Linked DNA regions of Homo sapiens: regions 1, 2, 3, 5, 6 and 7 are each linked to region 4. Evidence: promoter capture Hi-C in 16 types of primary human blood cells and fetal thymus (Javierre and others, 2016). All regions are on one chromosome and are shown on one strand. The core of a region is centred on a gene start or on the middle of the fragment in contact, and the rest is flanking DNA. Distances in the headings are between cores, read along the strand shown. Region 1 has its middle 4.6 kb from the start of WBP2. Region 2 overlaps UBALD2 (UBA like domain containing 2). Region 3 holds the start of TRIM47 (tripartite motif containing 47). Region 4 holds the start of SRP68 (signal recognition particle 68). Region 5 overlaps LOC105371896 (a long non-coding RNA gene). Region 6 overlaps FBF1 (Fas binding factor 1). Region 7 overlaps MRPL38 (mitochondrial ribosomal protein L38).

Region 1 (2,700 bases), core at 3-2,502, 210 kb after region 4:
AGGCACGGGCACCAGCACCAGCCGGCCCAGGCCCGCTCTTCAGAGGGCTGGGTTTTAGTACCCTGGGGCTCCTCTTTCAAGCTTCTGTATTATTGTTGATTTTGGTGTTTTGTTTTGTTTTTTGAGATGGGGGTCTCACTCTGTCACCCAGGCTGGAGTGCAATGGTGCGAACTCAGCTCACTGCAGCCTCTGCCTCCTGAGCGAAGCAATCCTCCCACCTCAGCCTCCTGAGTAGCTGGGACTACAGGTGCGCTCCACCACCCCCGGCTAACTTTTTGTATTTTTAGTAGAGATGGGGGCTTCACCATGTTGGCCAGGCTGGTCTCAAACTCCTGACCTCAAGTGTCCGCCGTGAGCCACCACGCCGGCAGCACTTTTTTTTTTTTTGAGTTTCACTCTTTTTGCCCAGGCTGGAGTGCAATGGCGCCATCTCGGCTCACTGCAACCTCCGTCTTCCAGATTCCAGCTATTCTCCTGCCTCAGCCTCCCGAGTAGCTGGGATTACAGGCTTGCGCCACCATGCCCGGCTAATTTTGTAGTTTTAGTAGAGACGGGGTTTCACCATGTTGGCCAGGCTGGTCTTGAACTCCTGACTCAGGTGATCTGCCCGCCTCGGCTTCCCAAAGTGCTGGGATTAGAGGTGCGAGCCACCGAGCCCGGCCCTTTCAGCAATTTTTTTTTTTTTTTTTGAGACGGAGTCTCACTCTGTCGCCGAGACTGGAGTGCAGTGGCTCGATCTCTGCTCACTGCAAGCTCCGCCTCCTGGGTTCACGCCATTCTCCTGCCTCAGCCTCCTGAGTAGCTGGGACTACAGGTGCTCACCACCACACCCGGCTAATTTTTTTGTATTTTTTTTTTTTAGTAGAGACAGGGTTTCACCGTGTTAGCCAGGATGGTCTTGATCTCCTGACCTCGTGATCTGCCTGCCTCGGCCTCCCAAAGTGCTGGATTTACAGGCGTCAGCAACTGCGCCCGGCTGCTTGCAGCAATTTTTTAAGATGACAAAATAAAACAGAAAATTTCAGAATATATCCCACTACAAAATACAAATTAAGCAGCATGTGGTGGTGGCAGGGCCTGTACTCTCAGCTACTTGGGAGGCTGAGGCAGGACCACTGCTTGATGCCAGGAGTTCAAGACCATCCTGGGCAACATAATGGAACCCCATCTCTACCAAAAAAATTTTTTAAACTAGCCAGGCATGGTGATGTGCACTTGTAGTCCCAGCTACTTAGGAGGCTGACGTAAAAAGATTGCTTGAGCCCGGGAGGTTGAAGGTGCAGTAAGCCATGACTGCACCACTCCAGCCTGAGTGACAATGTAAGACAGGGTCTCGCTCTGTCACCCAGGCTGGTCTCAAACTCCTGGGCTCAAGCCCTATATATTTTTACTGTGGGTCAAGGTAAGGAAAAACAGCCACCGTTTGGTAAATGCTGCCAACCTTTTTTTTTTTTTTTTTTTTTAAATTTTTAGAGGGAGGGTCTCACTATGTTGCCCAGGATGGTCTTAAACTCCTGGGCTGAAGCAATCCTCCTGCCTCAGTCTTCCAAAATGCTGGGATTACAGGCATGAGCCACCTCTACGGGCCTGCCAACCTCTTTTATGTCATGGCACACACAGAAAATGATTTGTTCAGTGAAAATGGTATTTATTTGGCTCACTGGGGCAAACAGATTCATCTTATTGGGAGTCAAGAGGCGACCAGGCGGGGGCGGTGGCTCATACCTGTAATCCTAACACTTTCGGGAGTGTTAGGTGGGCGGATGACTTGAGGTCAGGAATTTGAGACCAGCTTGGCCAACATGGTGAAACCCCATCTCTACTAAAAATACAAAGATTAGCTGGGCGTGGTGGCACGATTCTGTAGTCCCAGCTACTCTGGAGGCTGAGGCATGAGAATTGCTTGAACCCGGGAGGCGGAGGCTGCAGTGAGCAGAGATCATGTCAATGCACTCCACCCCAGGAGACGGGCAAGACCCTGTATCAAAAATAAATACATAAATAATAAATAAAATTATAAACAGAAAAAACAGGTGACCAGTTCAGGGGCTCAGCTGCCCCAGACCTTGCCTGCTGGTATCTGAGGCCAACCTGCACTCCTCCTTAGCGCACCGCTAAGATGTGCTCCAGTGTGGAGAATATGAGCATCATACTGCAGTGAAAAAGAGATCTGGAGACAGGCAGACAGGAGTATGAGGCCAGAGGAGAGGTCTGAGTACTGAGACCTGGGCCCAGGGGAGCCTCCTGCTGCTCACCTGGTTCAGCAATAAACCATTGTTGAAGTCTTCGGTTTGAGTTTTGAGTTCTGGTACGTTCCAGCCCCAAAGTCATGGGAGCCGCCCAGGAAGTGTGTTCACATGGTCATATGTTTTTGTAAAACTTAGAAATTCTGGACATTGTAGCCGGAGCTGGTCAAGCTTGTTATCTCTGCACTGCAACTTCCTCTTCTTGTCATTTCCCCTCCTGTCAGGAGGCCTCACTGTAGCCACAGTATTGTGAATGAATAATTGTGGGGTTGTTTTTTTTTTTTGAGTTAGAGCTTTCCTCTCGTTGCCCAGGCTGGAGTGCAGTGGCTTGATCTCAGCTCACTGCAACCTCCGTCTCCAGGGTTCAAGCGATTCTCCTGCCTCAGCCTCCCGAGTAGCTGGGATTACAGGTGACCGCTACCACACCCAGCTAATTTTTTGTATTTTTAGTAA
Region 2 (2,700 bases), core at 105-2,604, 200 kb before region 4:
CTCCTCACCCAGGCCTTCCCCACGCCCACAGAAGGTCCCAGAGCGACATTCCCTAAGCCGGCCAGGGCAACCCCCGACCATTCCCGCACCTGGGCATGGCCCACACCTGGGTGGACCCCGGTGCAGGCCCAGGAGGCCTGGGGACGTCACAGCCTAACCACCCACGTGCTGAGAGGGGCTGCCCCTTCCAGCCTGGGAAAGCACAGGTGGGCAGGGGCGGGGGGAGGGGGAGGAGTCTCAGGGGTTTCCAACCAGGAAACAAAACTGAAAGGACGAACCCAGCTTCCAAGCACGTCCGTGTCACACGCAGGGGTGGAGGGGCAGCGGGGCCCACCGTTCCGCTCCACTGGAGGAGGGGCTGCCCCACCGTGTGAGGGGCCCGAGGAGGCCCGGAGGCAGGATGCGGTGGGTGCCGGGCCCGGCCCCTCTCGACTTTTATTTCACTTCCGGCCTGAACCTCCAGAACCCTTGTCCTGCCTGTGTTCCAGCAAGACTTGGGCCCCGTAGACCCCAGCAGAGGGCGAGGCAGGAGGACGGGACAGGAAGGGGCTGCCCAGACTGTATGGCGGTGAAGGGCAGGGCTGGAGGAGGAATCCCAGCCACGCGGCCATCACCCCCATCAGCCAGGTGGACAGGCTCCCCACGCAGCTGACCTCCCGAGCAGCAGGACCACCTGAGGACGAGCTGCTGGGTCAGGAACTGGTAACCTCGCCCCATGCTGACGCCTGCAGGGCTGCGGGGAAGGGGGAATGGAAGCAGGCCCCTCTGGGGACCCGCCAGCCTTAATTGAACTTTGGGTCATGGCCACTCCACAGGCCATGACCCAAAGGGACATACTGCCCCCGGGAAGCTGAGGAGAGGAGTATCGGAGATGAGCCCAGCTGGAAGATGCTTCCTGGGAGGGCCTGGGGGGGCCATCAGGAGGCCCCCAGCTAGAAGGAAGCTCTCCCCACTGTAGATGAAAATGGCTTCCAGCTCTTCTCACTAGGGCTCTGTGGGTGGGGGCTACACCGATGGGGCCAAGAAGGGAAGGTCACAGAAACTCAGGACGGACCCCGGCCCCTCTCTCCTCCCCACACCAACCTGGACCTTGCTGTCAGAGCCCCTGGTGTGACCATCCCACAGCAAAAACATCCAGACCAGCCCAGTGGCAAGGGACCCCCACCACCCCTCTTCTGAGGAGACCGCTTTTCCCACCAACGGAAATAAAAGCACCGCAAACCAGGGAAGTTAGAAAAGTCTCTTTTTAAGTTTTTAAATTAAAATTTCGCCCTGGTGAGATGGGATTCTGATTCGGGAACTAAACCCAAAGGCAGGCTCTCCACTTTGGACCTGGACACGCAGCGGGAGGGGCAGGGCGCCCAGGGCAGTCAAGTCCCCTGCTGGGCAGAGCCTGGCCTTTGACCAAAGTCAGCTCCTCAGTGCCACATCAGCCCTGCACATTCAGCAGGAGACAGGGGTGATGAGCTATGGGGCCACAACCAGCAATCAGAGGTGGGGAAGAGGCCATGGGGAGAGAGCCCTGATACCAAGAGGGCCTTCCACAGCTTTGACCTCAGGCCCTCCTGGGACCTGCAGCTGCTATGTGGCTGCCCAGTGACTGCAGGAGTGGTGTCCTCTTCCAGATTCCAGAAGGCATGGCTGTTAAAGGAGGCAGCTGACAGATGCCTTGTGCCCACAACATCACTCCATCAGCTCTGCAGCATGGCAGCCCTACCCCCGAGCACCCCAGGTGTGCCAGGCCCATTCTCACGCACATTAGTTATATTTATCTATTCATATATATTATAGTTATATATTAAAAACAGAGGAAAAACTTGCCTGAAAAACTCCTGAAGGACCCACGTGGCCCAGGAAGTTTACTGTCCCCCCGACCCACAAAAATTCTTTTATAAAATCTTCCAGTGCGATCTTCGGGAAACCCCCTGCCCTCCCCGGCTCCCCCCTCCCTGGCCCTCCTGTGTCCCCACAACCCTGGGCTGCCCCCAGCTCCAGCCCAGCGCCCGGCGGCGTCCAGTCTCATCTCTGGCCGTCCATGGCCGCCATGGCTTTCTGCTGGGCGCCCCCCTGCTGTGCTCCTGGGGGCCACGTGGGCTGTGGGCGGTGGAGGTGGTGGAAGGTGGTGGGGGAGGAGGGCGGGATCCAGGGCGCCTGGTGGCTGGGCGGGGACGAGGCCCAGAAGGGGCTGAAGTTTGCAGGTGGGGAGCAGGCTGCGGCTGTCATGGGGCTGTTGCTGCTCTGCAGGCCCTCGGAGGCGCGGAGCTTGGAGAACATGGCCAGCGCATCGGGGAAGTTGGGCGGCGTGGCAGGGGTGTTGCTGGGAGTGCACATCTGCGGGAGAGAACACGGGTGTGGGGAGGCTGCCTCGGGGGTCCCCGAGCCACTGGATGGGGCTTACCCAGGCCAGCCGCTCCTTTACTCCCATTTTTCAGCTTCATTCATTTTCGCACAAGCAGCTTCCACAGGACAAAAGTGCCCTCTCCCCGAGGCAATACAAACAGAAAACAAGGACAAAACCCAAGAACCTTATCAAAACCAACGGGGTTTCATGAGGCCTGGAAATGACACCCCGAGGAGCATTCAAAGTAAATGGTTAATTGCACCCAGGAGCTAAGGTGTCAGATTAAAGTGAAAGGGCAAGGGGGCAGCCCAGGACACCACTGTTCCGCACCTTCCCTGGGCAGGGAGACCAGCTGACTG
Region 3 (2,700 bases), core at 201-2,700, 190 kb after region 4:
TGTAATCCCAGCACTTTGGGAGGCCGAGGCGGGTGGATCACCTGAAGTCAGCAGTTCGAGACCAGCTTGGCCAACATGGTGAAACCCCGTCTCTACTAAAAATACAAAAATTAGCCAAATGTGGTGGCGGGCGCCTGTAATCCCAGCTACTCAAGAGTCCGAGGAGGGAGAATCGCTTGAACCCAGGAGACAGAGGTTGCAGTGAGCTGAGATTGCGCCACTGCACTCCAGCCTGGGCGACAAGAGCGAAACTCCATCTAAAAAAATAAAAATAAAAAAACATTATTTGGAATTTTCAATGCGAAATATGTCTGTTCTCCCCAGCTTGTTAATTTATTATTTATTTATATCGGCATGGACTCATAGATGTTTATTTTACACTTTGGGTTATAATCAGTGCTACTTTACTTATTTTGTTGTCATTCTGGTGTAGTGTTTTAACTTAACATTATTGAGATATAACTCATACAATAAAACGCACCACTTTAAGTGCATAATTAGATGAGCTTTAAATACTTCCAGTTGGGGAACCCCCAACCCCACCACAGGTGTCCCCAGTGTCCAGGGGCCAGAACTACATTCCTCAGACAAGGGACTTAGGGAATGACGTCAACTTCCCATTTCAGGTCTAGAAAAGTCCAAGTTCCCTACTTGGGGTAAAGAGTCGCTAAAGGAGCTGGGCGCTGTGGCTCACGCCTGTAATCCCAGCACTTTGGGAGGCCGAGGCAGGTGGATCACCTGAGGTCACGAGTTCAAGACCAGCCTGGACAAGGTGAAACTCCGTCTCTACAAAAAAATACAAAAATTTGCCTGGTGTGGTGGCAAGCGCCTATAATTCCAGCTACTTGGGAGGCTAAGGCAGGAGAATCACTTGAATCCGGGAGGCGGAGGTTGCAGTGAGCCGAGATAGCGCCCCTGCACTCCAGCCTGGGCGACAAGAGAGGAACTCTGTCTCAAAAAAAAAAAAAAAAAGAGTCGCTAAGGGGCAAAAACATATGTACATCAGCAGTTATTTTTCTCTGCAGTCAGCAGCTCAGGAACTTTGCTAAGGGTGCCAGGGAGGGGTCGAGCGCAAAGGTGCAGGCATGACACAGCTAGACGCGCCCAGCCCCTGCGGAGCGCTGGCCTGGCCCAGAAGGACCAGAGGGATGGAGGCTGAGTCCTTCCCATTCCTTCCACTGTACCTCTCGCGTTCTCCGCCCGCGCTCACTCAGTTTCACACCCTTTCAGCAGCGCCCTTCCTTAGGACCACGCGGACTCCCCTGGGGGTCGCGCGGGCTCGGAGGCCTCCCTGCGTTGTCTGGGCGGGGACTGGGAGTCCGCGGGCCCGCAGGCGGGCGGTGCTGCGGGGCGGGCCGAGCTGGGGGCGGGCGGGGGCCGGAGCCCTGGCCTAGGTCCCAGGGGGAGGTGCCGCGGCGCGAACGGCCCGGGTCCCTCCCAGGCCGGAGCACAATCGGCGGCGCCCTGGGCGGCCGCGGAGTCATGGACGGCAGTGGACCCTTCAGCTGCCCCATCTGCCTAGAGCCACTCCGGGAGCCGGTGACGCTGCCCTGCGGCCACAACTTCTGTCTCGCCTGCCTGGGCGCGCTCTGGCCGCATCGTGGCGCGAGTGGAGCCGGCGGACCCGGAGGCGCGGCCCGCTGCCCGCTGTGCCAGGAGCCCTTCCCCGACGGCCTTCAGCTCCGCAAGAACCACACGCTGTCCGAGCTGCTGCAGCTCCGCCAGGGCTCGGGCCCCGGGTCCGGCCCCGGCCCGGCCCCTGCCCTGGCCCCGGAGCCCTCGGCACCCAGCGCGCTGCCCAGTGTCCCGGAGCCGTCGGCCCCCTGCGCTCCCGAGCCGTGGCCCGCGGGCGAAGAGCCAGTGCGCTGCGACGCGTGCCCCGAGGGCGCGGCCCTGCCCGCCGCGCTGTCCTGCCTCTCCTGCCTCGCCTCCTTTTGCCCCGCGCACCTGGGCCCGCACGAGCGCAGCCCCGCCCTCCGCGGACACCGCCTGGTGCCGCCGCTGCGCCGGCTAGAGGAGAGCCTGTGCCCGCGCCACCTACGGCCGCTCGAGCGCTACTGCCGCGCGGAGCGCGTGTGTCTGTGCGAGGCCTGCGCCGCACAGGAGCACCGCGGCCACGAGCTGGTGCCGCTGGAGCAGGAGCGCGCGCTTCAGGAGGTGGGCTCCGGGGGCACACTCGGGTGAGCCGGGGCTGGTGACCGACCGCGCGCGAGCGGGCCGAGGACCTTGGACCCCCCAGTCTTCCCGGGTTGGGTCTTAATCTCCTCCTCTAACCTGAGGATCTTTGCGGTCCCTTCCAGCCTTGACAAGGTCATCTGCTGGCGGTGATGGAGATGGGAAGGGAGGAAGGAGGGACGTGAGAACAGGACAAGGACGCGAAGAGCGGGCAGGGGACCTGAAGCCGGGCCGGGGTCTATGGGGGTGTAGGCGGGAGGGAGCCGGGTTAGGCCCGCGGGGTTCCGGTAGCGTGGCTGCTGCTCCCGCCCGGAGGGTCACGCCGGTCTCAGCTCAGATTTGCCCTGGGCTGAGGCAGCAGCTTTCGATGGGTGTGGCAGGCGGCAGGAGGGCGGCAGAGGGCGACCGGGCACACAGATTCTCTGTCCAGCTGTTCCGGGGGCCAGTGGTGGGAGCATGTGAGCCGCGGCCTCTACCTCCCGCCCCCAGTTTCCTTTGGCCTCCAGCCCGGTCTTGGCGCCTCTG
Region 4 (2,700 bases), core at 38-2,537:
GCATCTATTGTGTCAGGCTCTGTCTTTGGCTCCATGCCTCAGTTTCCTCAGCTGTAACAAGGAAATGGTAACACTTCCTTCTAAGAGGGATCTGCTGAGAAAGGAATGAGATGTATGGGAGAGTTAGTTAAATCTGAATGCATCAGATCCTTATTCTTTTTCTCCTGACCTTATTCCGTATACCTTGAGGAAATTCAAAATAGAGTTCAGGGCCGGGCGCGGTGGTTCACGCCTGTAATCCCAGCACTTTGGGAGGCCGAGGCGGGCGGATCACGAGGTCAGGAGATCGAGACCATCCTGACCAACATGGTGAAACCCCGTCTCCACTAAAAATACAAAAATTAGCGGGACGTGGTGGCAGGCGCCTGTAATCCCAGCTACTCGGGAGGCTGAGGCAGGAGAATGGCTTGAACCCAGGAGGCAGAGGTTGCAGTGAGCCGAGATCACACCATTGCACTCCAGCCTGGGCAACAAGAGCGAAACTCTATCTAAAAAAAAAAAAAAAATCCGTCATTTAATCTTCCTAACAACCACTTAAATTGGTTATCCCCATTTCATAGATGAAGGAACAGATTTACAGGGAGATTAAGTTACGTGCCCAACATGTCCCTGCCGCTAATGACGGAGCGGGGATTGGAATCCCAGGTCTCAGACTCTAGAAGGTGCAAAGCAAAAATTCATATTTTCCCATGTCTCAACACTTCTCCCTCTTTGGACTGACGGCCCCAAAGTGCAGTGGTCCACGGCCCCAAGCGGTCTGAGAAAGTCACCCCGTTAGGACACCGTCTGCTGACTGCGCAGCGCTTCCTCCGGCTTGGCGTTCTTACGGCCAGCCTCAGAGGAAAGGGCAGGCAGAGGCGGGTCCCTTACGGACGGGGTGTCCCGTTCCGGTAGGGAGGACCCCATCTCTTGAGTCCCTGGGGATGCAGACACCCCGAAATCCAGTATCTTTGGTCTCCTGCTTTCTGCTGGGCAGGACGTGAACCAGATCCCCAGTCCAGGATGCAGGACCTGGGGTCCACCTCCGGTTCTCCGCCCTTAGTGGGTGGGAGGTGGGACTGCCCCCTGAGATCTCAGCAGCCACGGTCTCACTGCGGCCTCAAGTCCCCACCTAGCCAGCCACAATTCCGGACCCGGGATGACAGGATCCCTCGCGCAGGCGCGCTCCAGCACATGGCGCCCTGCTGCAGCAAGGGCCGACGGCGGCGGAGTCCGCCGCTATCCCATCAGCCCGGCCAGGCAGGTCCAGCTCTCACCCGCCCAGGTCGTCCCGCCTCCCCTATCCCGTCTTGCTCTGCGGCGCAGGGGCAAGATGGCTGCTGAGAAGCAGGTCCCAGGCGGCGGCGGCGGCGGCGGCAGTGGCGGCGGCGGTGGCAGTGGCGGCGGCGGTAGCGGCGGTGGACGTGGTGCCGGAGGGGAAGAAAATAAAGAAAACGAACGCCCTTCGGCCGGATCGAAGGCAAACAAAGAATTTGGGGATAGCCTGAGTTTGGAGAGTATCCTAGAGTAATCGGGCCTAACTCGCAATGATTACGTGTCGAACTGGAGGGCTGGGGGCGGGAGAGGCGGCGGGTCCCGACAAGTCCTGGCAGGAGAGGCCGAGGGTTGCAGTTTCTCTCGCCCTTACCTTTTGGTGCTCAGAATTCCGGGGGGGGTCTGTCTCTCGACTAGTCTTTCCTCGTGTCCCCCTCGCCGTCCTGGCTAGGTCCGTTTCTTCCAGTGGCACTGGGATATCAGGCAGGTTTCCCCTGGTGCCCCGCAGTTGTCCAGTTGGAGGGCTTGTGACCAAGTGACACCTTGAGCACCTTGCTTTGGCACCTTGAGCCACTGAACTGGGGAGAGGAAACTGCAGTCTTGACATTTGGCTTAATACTCTTGTCTGACAGTCGTCATAGACTGAGTAGTAAAACCTACAGCTCGATACTTTGAAAGTGGAGGTAAAGATTGACTCAGGAAAAGCTTGTTGCCCATTTTGATTGTAAGTTACCGTAGTTAATATCGATTGTGTCATTTTTTTCTGATCGGTCTGTAGGCATTTTATCTTGCTGACAGTCATTCATATAAGCTGGAGGAATCGGTTTCTAGTTTCCATCAGTGTGTATCTCAACCAAGTGCTTGTGGTACTAGTTTGTGACCTTTTGAAATGAATAACAAATGGAGAAAACGTAGGCGAGTTTCTGAAATAACACATTCAACTTGACATCTTAATGTGCTTAAAGTTCTCAGGCGCTTGGAGTTAAATATTTTGAATTACTGGTAATAGTTCCAAGTAGACGCTAGCGAGCCCTGATTTTACTGAGACCTTTATATCTCTTTGTCCCGTTTTAGTAATTTAAAGAGTCCTTTTAGCGTTCACTATTTTAAAATATGTCTCTAGAGAAGTGTTGAGGAAACATTAAAACTATACCTATATAGATGAAGGTCATTGGACTTTCTAAAGATTAGTACATAATCTTAAATATTTTAAGATTATTAAAAGGAGAATCTGGCCATTCTTCTTTTGAAAGAAAAACCTTAATACTTTTATGCAAACTGTAGCCTAGCTTGGTTGACATGTGCTAATCATAGACTCTCTAAGCATCACAGCTGTTAAGGAAAGTTAGATTTGGCAGGTGTTGGAGATTATGCAAATGGAGGCTTAGTACATGTCATTTATAACCTGAATCTGAATGAATAAAATGTGGGGTCTAGGTGTTAATT
Region 5 (2,700 bases), core at 184-2,683, 170 kb before region 4:
GCGTGGCTGAGAATGAGAACTTAAAGTTGACATTCTGGGTGCCCCACTCACTTCGCCTTATCCCCAACACATTGGGCCGTGTAAACATCATCTTTCATTTTAGTCTTAACTTGAAAAATAGATTAATAGGCTACAAACTGGACTGGAGTCTGCATCCATTTGAACAACTCTTCTTTATTGGCAGCCCAGAGTGGAGGACGAAATTAACAATGAGGAATTCACACTCAGCAAAAAGCAAAATATGAAAGCCTGATTGCGGATTTCCTAATGGACAAGATTATTTTCCTCTACAGAGAGCCTTAGGTTGCCAGAGGAACCATCTGCAGGGCCCCAAAGCATTTAGGATCAGACTATTCTGTCGACGTTAGCCTAGCCCACTGATCTGGAGCAGGATGTGACATTCTCCGCTGGTGGTTTTGGCTTCAATCCACCGAAGCCACATGTCGAGGACTAAAAGAGGGATCGGGCCCATGTGTGGCTGATTGGGCCCTATCTTCTGGAGAGAGCTGGTACTCATTAAGAACAGCCAAGATTCTCATCTTCCTGTCCCAAAATCAGAGACCTTTCTTAGCTCTTTCAGGTCACCTGAGATACTGGTTTGCCTCCCAAACCCTGCTGCCTCAGGAATGCTGTGCTGCAGGGCTGTGTCTGTCAGTTTCCACCTGCAGGCTCCCTCACTCCTTCCTGCACTAAGCTAATCATTGCATGTGTTACAAGGGTGGAAATGGCACATCTGGGCTGAAACCAGGACAGCAACATGAACAAAATGAAAAGTCCAAAGGGACAAGCTCACCTAAAAATTACTTGTCCCCGTACTTCCCCCACCCTTCTCCTTTCTCCCTTAGACCCAAGTTGCAGAAGAAGAGCTTCAATGTGATAGAAATACCTGGCTTTGCCCCTTGCCTTCCAGGGATGTTTAGAGAAAACCGCTGAGACCCTTGGATGTTGTGTTGTCTGCTGGGATTCTCCCAAGGGCTGCATCCATAGTGTGGAAATGGATAGGGTGCTACAAGGCTATTTCCACAAAGCACGTGTGGTATTTGCATGTGATTTCCCTATGCACACTGTGCAACCCCTCCCCAGACCATTTTTCAAGTTAAAAACATTTTTATGGCTCTCTTGGTGCAGTCACTTCTGGATTTTTCCTCCTATCTGAGCTGCCTTCTCCCTCGGGCACTCTCCCTGGCCCAGATCTTTGGCGAGGGAGCCAAGTGGAGCCAGGGAAGAACCATAGAGGAATGCAGGACTCAGCCCCTCTAGAGTCGGCTGCTCCGAGGGTCTAGCTGCTTATCTCGCCTTTGCCCAGGGCACTGGCTGAGATTCTATTTCCAAAATTGTTCACACTAGGTGATTACACTGTAGACTGTGGGACTGTAGCTCAATTCACAAAAAGTCTCTTTGATCTAGAAGTTTCTAAACTGCCTTCTATCCGTTTCTCTTCTGTCTCTGGTCAACATTCTTTTAAAAATGAGTCTTGGCTGGGTGTGGTGGCTCACGCCTTTAATCCCACCACTTTGGGAGACCAAGGCGAGCGGATCACCTGTGGTCAGGAGTTGGAGACCAGCCTGGACAACATGGTGAAACTCCATCTCTACTAAAAATACAAAAGTTAGCCGGGCGTGGTGGCGGGCGCCTGTAGTCCCAGTTACTCAGGACGCTGAGGCAGGAGAATCACTTGAACCCGGAAGGTGGAGGTTGCAGTGAGCCGAGATCACACCATTGCACTCCAACCTAGGCAGCAGAGTGAGGCTCTGTCTCAAAAACAAAACAAAACAAAAGAGTCTTGATTCACTTATTGCATCTTTGCAATAACCATTGGAGACTGGGCTATTTTCAGAGGAGGAAACGGAGACCGTTTCTAAGGGCTTAAGTCAAAGTTACATAGCTGCTTAGGGGTTTGATTTGTCCAACTCAAAGTCTAGTGCTCTTTCTGTGCCTCATTCTCTTCGACTGTAAAATCGGGGTGTAAATAGCATGTATTTGATAGGGTTGTTGGGAGGGTTGAATGCTTTAATACGTGTGAAGTGTTTAAAACAGCCTGGCACATAGAGTGTTCCATAAATATCCACTAATTTTATTGTGCTATGCCTTGTTTTTCTTTACTATTCTAAGCATTGGACTCATGACTCCTTCGTGGGAGGAGGAACCAACTTCTAGGCTTGGGGAGTATTATTCAAGATGGAGAAGCTGGCTTCCCAGGGTCAGGCCAAGGTGGGACCAGAAGAGACACCCCATAAGCAACAGGACTGGGCTGCTTGACTAAGCCACATCCCTGCCTGGCCCTGGCTAAGCAGAAGAAACTCTCAGACATGGATAAACCCACAAAGGGAAGGGATGTCCCGTTTACAAAATGCCGAGGGCAGGAAGAACCAAGGCTTCTGAACAGAGCCGAGGAGCATAAGGCAACATTTTACTCTGTGATGTGTCGAAGGCCTTGTGTTTTGAGGTGGTTCTAGATTCTTATTTGCATTTTACCTTTACCCAGCAGTTACAAGGTAGGGCCTGTGTGTGCTGAAAGGAGTATGGAGGAGGACACCAGTTCCCTCCCACAGGGATGACTGAAAGCCCTGGAGTAGTTAGGACCAGGGACTCTGCCAGAGAGCTCTGGTGCTTGGGAGAAGCTGCCGGGGCAGGGACTTGCCCTGTAACCCAAGCCTTCGTTAGCAGCAGCCAATATAAATGACAGGGATGTGTTCCCAC
Region 6 (2,700 bases), core at 132-2,631, 140 kb after region 4:
CGGGGTTTCACCACATTGGCCAGGCTGGCCTCAAACTCCTGACCTCAAGTGATCTACCCGCCTCGGCCTCCCAAAGTGCTGGGATTACAGGCGTGAGCCACTGTAAATAATGCCCAAGGGCTGCCGAGTGGACCCAAAGCAGAATCCTCTTTCCTGTAGTAAGATGAGTGGAAAGGAGAGCTCCCTGAAACTGCTAGAGTCTTAGATGTTGCTCCTTTCCCCTTATAAACTCCATAGCTGTCCATTGGCATGGGTGGGAAGTAGCAGAATTTCAGTCCTGGATGGAAGAGTTCTCTATGGTTGGAAGGAGTAGGAATGGCAGTGCTCTCTGAGTCTCTAAAACCAGGCAGGTTTGGCTTCAAACAACTGCCAAGCCCAAGCAAGGGGAACAAAGCCACCCTCCTGTGTAAGCTCCATTGGCCAAGCTCTGCTCCTGCCGCGCCGTCTGCCCTAACAGAAGCAAGGGGCCAGGACCCTGAGTTTTATTGGGCCTTGACTAATGTGCCTCCTCATCTGTGTCCTCACCCTCATTGTGGACTTAGGTTTCAGGTATCTCAGAGGCAGACCCACAGGCTCTGCTCCAGGCCATGAAGGTAAGGAAACAGCTTGCACGATTCTTAGAACTGGGGGTGGGTGGGGTGGGGTCATGATATTTTGTACCAAAGCTTCATTCTCCTTCTAATTTCTCCCTTTACAACCTGTGTTTCTGAGCCCTTCCTCGTGCAAGCATGGAACTCGTCTGTGAGCCGTTGGCCTCCTTGCCTTTCTGAGTATCAACCAGTGTTCCTGGTATATAGAGAGTGGAGAGTGCCACAGGCCTCTGGGGAAACGGGGCCAGCTCTACTCGGAGGCCCACCTAGCTGGGTCCCCTCACCTCCACCTAGAAGACAGAGGGGGAGACTCTTTCCTCTAATGCTTGTTCTTAATCTTTCTCCATATTTCTCTCCACATCCCCTGCCAAGCCCCCTTCAATACTGCTGTCTTCTCATCAGATCAAGCCCAGCGCCAATCTTTGCAATGGATTTTTAAGGCACAGATTCTGAATAATTTGTAAGGACATAATCTCTAGCTTGGCCTAAGACACCTTGTTCTCCCTCTCCTTCCAGCCAGCAGCACCTTCCTGTCTGACCCTTGGGGTTTTGTGTCCCTTTTAGTTAACCCATTTTGCCACAGTCCCTAGGACAAAGCCGCGTTTTTGGTTACAGCCCTGTGGGGCTCTTGTTTTTGTTGTGTATTTTTGTTTTTTGGGTTTTTTTTTAGAGACACCATCGCATTCTATCACCCAGGCTGGAGTGCAGTGGTGTGATCTCATTGCAACCTTAAACTCCTGGCCTTAAGCGATTCTCTTACCTTGGCCTCCCAAAATACTGTAATTACAGGCATGAGGCACCACACCCGGTCCAGATTCAGCTTCTTTAATCTCATCTTGAAATCTTTCTCCTCAAAGGCCAGGCACCTGTAATCCCAGAACTTTGGGAGGCCGAGGCAGTAGGCTCGCTTGAGCCTAGGAGTTGGAGGCTGCAATGAGCTATGATCACACCACTGCACTACAGCCTGGGTGGTGACAGAGTGAGACTCTGTCTTCAAAAAAAAAAAAAAAGTCTGGCATGGTGGCTTACTCCTGTAATGCCAGCACTTTGGGAGGCCATGGCAGGTGGATCACTTGAGCTCAGAAGTTGGAGGCTGCAATGAGCTATGATCGCACCACTTCACTCCAGCCTGGGTGACAGAGTGAGACTCTGTCTTTATTTTATTTTATTTTTAATTTATTTTTATTTTTTTGAGACGGAGTCTTGCTCTGTTGCCTAGGCTGGAGTGCAGTGGCATGATCTCGGCTCACTGCAACCTCCACCTCCCAGGTTCAAGCGATTCTCCTACCTCAGCCTCCCAAGTAGCTGGGATTACAGGCGTGCACCACCACACCCAACTAATTTTTGTATTTTTTGTAGAGACAGGGTTTCATCATGTTGGCCAGGATGGTCTCGATTTCTTGACCTGGTGATCCACCTGCCTCGGCCCAAAGTGCTGGGATTCTAGGCATGAGCCACCGCGCCCGGCCAATATCCTGTCTAAAAAAAGAAAAAAAAGAAAGCTTTTTTCCCGAGACCAGCCACCTAGGATCCCTGGGCATAACCCACAAGTCCTCTGACTCAATTTTTGGTGCTGACTTTGAGTCTCTCATCCCAGAACCATGAGCTGGACTCCATTCCACCTCCCCCTGCTTACCTTTAGTTCCATTTTCTTTCTTCACTCACTGTTTTTCTCAACAGTTTTCTCATTTTCCTTTGTTTTCTCACAATTCTACACCTGGGGTGCCAACAGCCCATCTCTCTCAGGTGGAAGTCCTCAGCCCCTTATCAGACATAGTCCTCTGCCCTCCCTCCCTGGTTTTCTAGGACCTGGACGGCATGGATGCTGATATCTTAGGTCTGAAGAAATCTAATTCAGCCCCTAGCAAAAAAGCTGCAAAGGACCCTGGGAAAGGAGAGCTGCCCAACCACCCCAAGCCTGCAGGTGGGTCAGTAGCCAGTGAGAAAGGTGCATGGGAGACGGCTCCTCGCATCTGCTAGGGAGACTTTGAGGACGTGGAAGATGCTAGTAGGAAGCGTTCATGTCCTTGGGTTTTCTCTGCACAGGATGGAGAGGCCAAGGAGCATTTGTGCGTGTGTGTGTTTGAGTGTGTGTGGTGGGGTAAGGGGA
Region 7 (2,700 bases), core at 105-2,604, 170 kb after region 4:
GTTAAGGCTGCAGTGAGTCATGACCCTGTTTTTCCCACACATCTTCCCACTCCAGATCCCAAAGAGAAGATTGATATTGGGCTGCCTCCACCCAAAGTCTCCCGGACCCAACAGCTACTGGAACGGAAACAGGCCATCCAGGAGCTTCGGGCCAATGTGGAAGAGGAGCGGGCTGCCCGCCTCCGCACAGGTAAGCCTTCTCAGGGGAGGGGCCATCCCAGAGTTGGGGTACAGGGTGTGTCCCTGCCCCCCCCACCCCCGTATCCCAACTGGCCTTATTCCTGTCTAGCCAGTGTCCCGCTGGATGCCGTGCGGGCCGAGTGGGAGAGGACCTGTGGCCCCTACCACAAGCAGCGTCTGGCTGAGTATTACGGCCTCTACCGAGACCTGTTCCACGGTGCCACCTTTGTGCCCCGAGTCCCCCTGCACGTGGCCTACGCTGTGGGTGAGGATGACCTGATGCCTGTGTACTGTGGCAATGAGGTGACTCCAACCGAGGTAACCACTCACTTGTGCCCCTCCTCCCTGCCCTGTGCAAACACAGACACATCCCATCTCAGTGTCACAGACACTCCTGGGTTTGGAATTTTGTTGTTCTCTGTCTCTTTGATTTCCTGGAAGACGACACCATGACAATTTCAAAGAAAATAGAACAAAATGAAGGAAAAAGAGGCTCTGTCTTAGCACATTCCTGTGACCAGCCTGCTGTCTGTGGTGTGCCCTCCTGGCCCGGCCTTGGCACATGTTCGTTTTTGTGGTTGTTGCCTGGACAGGCAACTCTGCAGGGCTGCTTCTCTACGCATCCCTTTGCCTGCCTGCCTGTGCCAGGGGTTGTCAAGGGCTTTTGGGTCAGAGTGGGCACCCCTTTCTCCAAGGCTCCCTGCAACAGCTGGCCTGTCCCTGGTGGGGCTGACAGCTTCCTTCTCACCCTGCCAGGCTGCCCAAGCGCCAGAGGTGACCTATGAGGCAGAAGAGGGCTCCTTGTGGACGTTGCTACTCACTAGCTTGGGTGGGTGTCTGGGGCTCACCAGGCCTCCTGCCCCGCTCACCTCCTATGAGCCAGGGCCCTGGGGGGCTGGGGGAGGGGCCAGGTGGAGATCTCCAGCGCTGGCTCCTAACAAGGGAGGGGGTGGCAGGGCCGTGGTCGGCTGGGCCGTGGTCAGCAGGTGTGTTTTTGTGCAGATGGGCACCTGCTGGAGCCAGATGCTGAGTACCTCCACTGGCTGCTGTGAGTACTGGAGTACTGGGGGTAGGGGGTGCTGCCCAGGCGGGAAGAGGAGCTGGGAGCCTGGACTGAGCTGCTCCTGAGTTTCATGGACTACCCATGGGACCTTGAATTCACCTGCCACCTCTGCCTCCTGAGGGTGTTAGGGGCCCTGGGATCCACGTGTCTACTTGAAGACAGCTACAGGAGACAAAGTTTGCAGTAGGCCTCGGTCAGTCCCCACAAGCCTCCTCATCTTTTCTTTTCTTTTTTTTTTTTTTTTTTGAGACAGGGTCTCACTCTGTCCCCCAGGCTGGAGTACAGTGGTGCAATCATGGCTAATTGCAGCCGCTAACTCCTGGGCTCAGGTGCTCTTCCCACCTCAGTCTCCTGAGTAGCTGGGACTACAGGTGCAAACCACTACACCCAGCTAATTTTTGTATTTTTTTATAGAGACAGGGTTTCACCATGTTGCCCAGGCTGGTCTCCTGAGCTCAAGCGATCTGCCCGCCTCCGCCTCCCAAAGTGCTAGGATTATAAGCGTGAGCCACCATGCCTGGGCCCTTCGTCTCTAAACTCATTTCTTCACCTGTAAAACTGGGATAATGGCACCACATGCCTTACTCAGCGTGAGGTGGACTGTGACAGTCACGTGGGAGAAGGAGCGGGAGAGGCCTAGCAGCTGTGGCGTCCCCCAGGTGCTCCTTGAACCACTGGGCGCTCCTTCCCTGGGCCCAGACTGGGCGGCCTTCCATCTTGGTAGCTTTTGGCTCTGAACACCAGGCCAGGGGGCAGAGGTCAGGCCAGTGACCCCAACTTTGAGCCTTCTGGTTAACTGGGGACAGTGACTGGGAGGCTGGTTTCCGTCATTTTTATTCAACTGTTACCAGCCTATGCGGCAGGACCCTCTGGGGATTTGTGCCTGAGGCGTTGGCCGCCCCTGTGCCAGGCTGGGCACACACTCCCTGACGAGGTCCTGGAGACTTCAGGACGCAGAGGGAAAAGCAGCCAAAAGTGGCCTGGCTTTCTAGCCTCAGTGACTGTGGCGGACCCACCGGCTCCCGGGGCCTGGAAGCGGCTGCATGGCCTTGCTGTCAAGCTGATGCTCTCTGGAGCCCTGTCCCCCACTCGGAGCTCCTCCAGCCCGCTTCCCGTATTTGCAGCATGTCCCGGCGTTCACAGAGCTTGGCTGCCTCCTCTGTCCCAGGAGAGAGATGCTTAGAGCTGTCCTCCCAGGGAGTCATGTCAGCCTCTAGGGTGTGCATGGAGCTGAGGGGACACTCCTGCTGCCTCCCTGGAGTGGTAATTAACCGGGACTTTCCTCCTCCCAGAACCAACATCCCGGGTAACCGGGTGGCTGAAGGACAGGTGACGTGTCCCTACCTCCCCCCCTTCCCTGCCCGAGGCTCCGGCATCCACCGTCTTGCCTTCCTGCTCTTCAAGCAGGACCAGCCGATTGACTTCTCTGAGGACGCACGCCCCTCACCCTGGTAATC

What was found. Contacts are between HindIII fragments. The CHiCAGO score rates a contact against its expected background, and 5 or more counts as called.
Region 1: a fragment that was not itself captured here is called in contact with the fragment with the promoter of SRP68 in region 4 in 1 of 17 cell types (endothelial precursors); the score reaches 5.5 in endothelial precursors.
Region 2: a contact is called between a fragment that was not itself captured here and the fragment with the promoter of SRP68 in region 4, in 6 of 17 cell types (endothelial precursors, M1 macrophages, fetal thymus and 3 more). The highest score is 6.0, in endothelial precursors.
Region 3: a contact is called between the fragment with the promoter of TRIM47 here and the fragment with the promoter of SRP68 in region 4, in 9 of 17 cell types (fetal thymus, non-activated CD4 T cells, erythroblasts and 6 more). The highest score is 10.4, in fetal thymus.
Region 5: a fragment that was not itself captured here is called in contact with the fragment with the promoter of SRP68 in region 4 in 1 of 17 cell types (endothelial precursors); the score reaches 5.2 in endothelial precursors.
Region 6: a fragment that was not itself captured here is called in contact with the fragment with the promoter of SRP68 in region 4 in 3 of 17 cell types (endothelial precursors, erythroblasts and M1 macrophages); the score reaches 7.4 in endothelial precursors.
Region 7: a contact is called between a fragment that was not itself captured here and the fragment with the promoter of SRP68 in region 4, in 1 of 17 cell types (endothelial precursors). The highest score is 6.5, in endothelial precursors.

What each region holds. Positions count from the first base shown.
Region 1 is chr17:75,858,608-75,861,307 of GRCh38, reverse strand. No RefSeq gene overlaps it. Among named protein-coding and RNA genes, the nearest start is that of WBP2, 4.6 kb to the right of the region's middle. The HindIII fragment of the contact is 2,337 bases long and covers 84-2,420 here.
Region 2 is chr17:76,269,825-76,272,524 of GRCh38, reverse strand. It overlaps UBALD2 (UBA like domain containing 2), which reads right to left. Exons shown (of 3, transcript NM_182565.4): 3 at 1,227-2,331. The coding sequence ends at 2,020. Among named protein-coding and RNA genes, the nearest start is that of UBALD2, 5.8 kb to the right of the region's middle. RefSeq lists enhancers at 1-62, 185-234, 63-587, 1,175-1,394, 2,275-2,464 and a silencer at 385-484. The HindIII fragment of the contact is 5,749 bases long and covers 1-2,700 here.
Region 3 is chr17:75,877,331-75,880,030 of GRCh38, reverse strand. TRIM47 (tripartite motif containing 47) reads left to right here and starts at 1,450. Exons shown (of 6, transcript NM_033452.3): 1 at 1,450-2,157. The coding sequence starts at 1,483. It also overlaps a transcript of TRIM65 not described here. RefSeq lists silencers at 1,266-1,615, 1,746-2,125, 2,136-2,315 and enhancers at 1,160-2,075, 2,076-2,700. The HindIII fragment of the contact is 18,500 bases long and covers 1-2,700 here.
Region 4 is chr17:76,071,104-76,073,803 of GRCh38, reverse strand. It overlaps SRP68 (signal recognition particle 68), which reads left to right and starts at 1,287. Exons shown (of 16, transcript NM_014230.4): 1 at 1,287-1,496. The coding sequence starts at 1,313. It also overlaps a transcript of GALR2 not described here. RefSeq lists enhancers at 345-1,172, 1,125-1,174, 1,173-2,000. The HindIII fragment of the contact is 7,541 bases long and covers 1-1,961 here.
Region 5 is chr17:76,241,979-76,244,678 of GRCh38, reverse strand. It overlaps LOC105371896 (a long non-coding RNA gene), which reads left to right. Exons shown (of 6, transcript XR_007065913.1): 6 at 185-2,700. Among named protein-coding and RNA genes, the nearest start is that of RNF157, 2.8 kb to the right of the region's middle. The HindIII fragment of the contact is 3,783 bases long and covers 1-2,700 here.
Region 6 is chr17:75,927,890-75,930,589 of GRCh38, reverse strand. FBF1 (Fas binding factor 1) reads left to right here. Exons shown (of 30, transcript NM_001319193.2): 7 at 543-593; 8 at 2,397-2,514. Among named protein-coding and RNA genes, the nearest start is that of FBF1, 12 kb to the left of the region's middle. The HindIII fragment of the contact is 1,427 bases long and covers 668-2,094 here.
Region 7 is chr17:75,899,510-75,902,209 of GRCh38, reverse strand. It overlaps MRPL38 (mitochondrial ribosomal protein L38), which reads left to right. Exons shown (of 9, transcript NM_032478.4): 3 at 56-190; 4 at 290-498; 5 at 937-1,009; 6 at 1,183-1,228; 7 at 2,536-2,694. Among named protein-coding and RNA genes, the nearest start is that of TRIM65, 3.9 kb to the right of the region's middle. The HindIII fragment of the contact is 3,542 bases long and covers 1-2,700 here.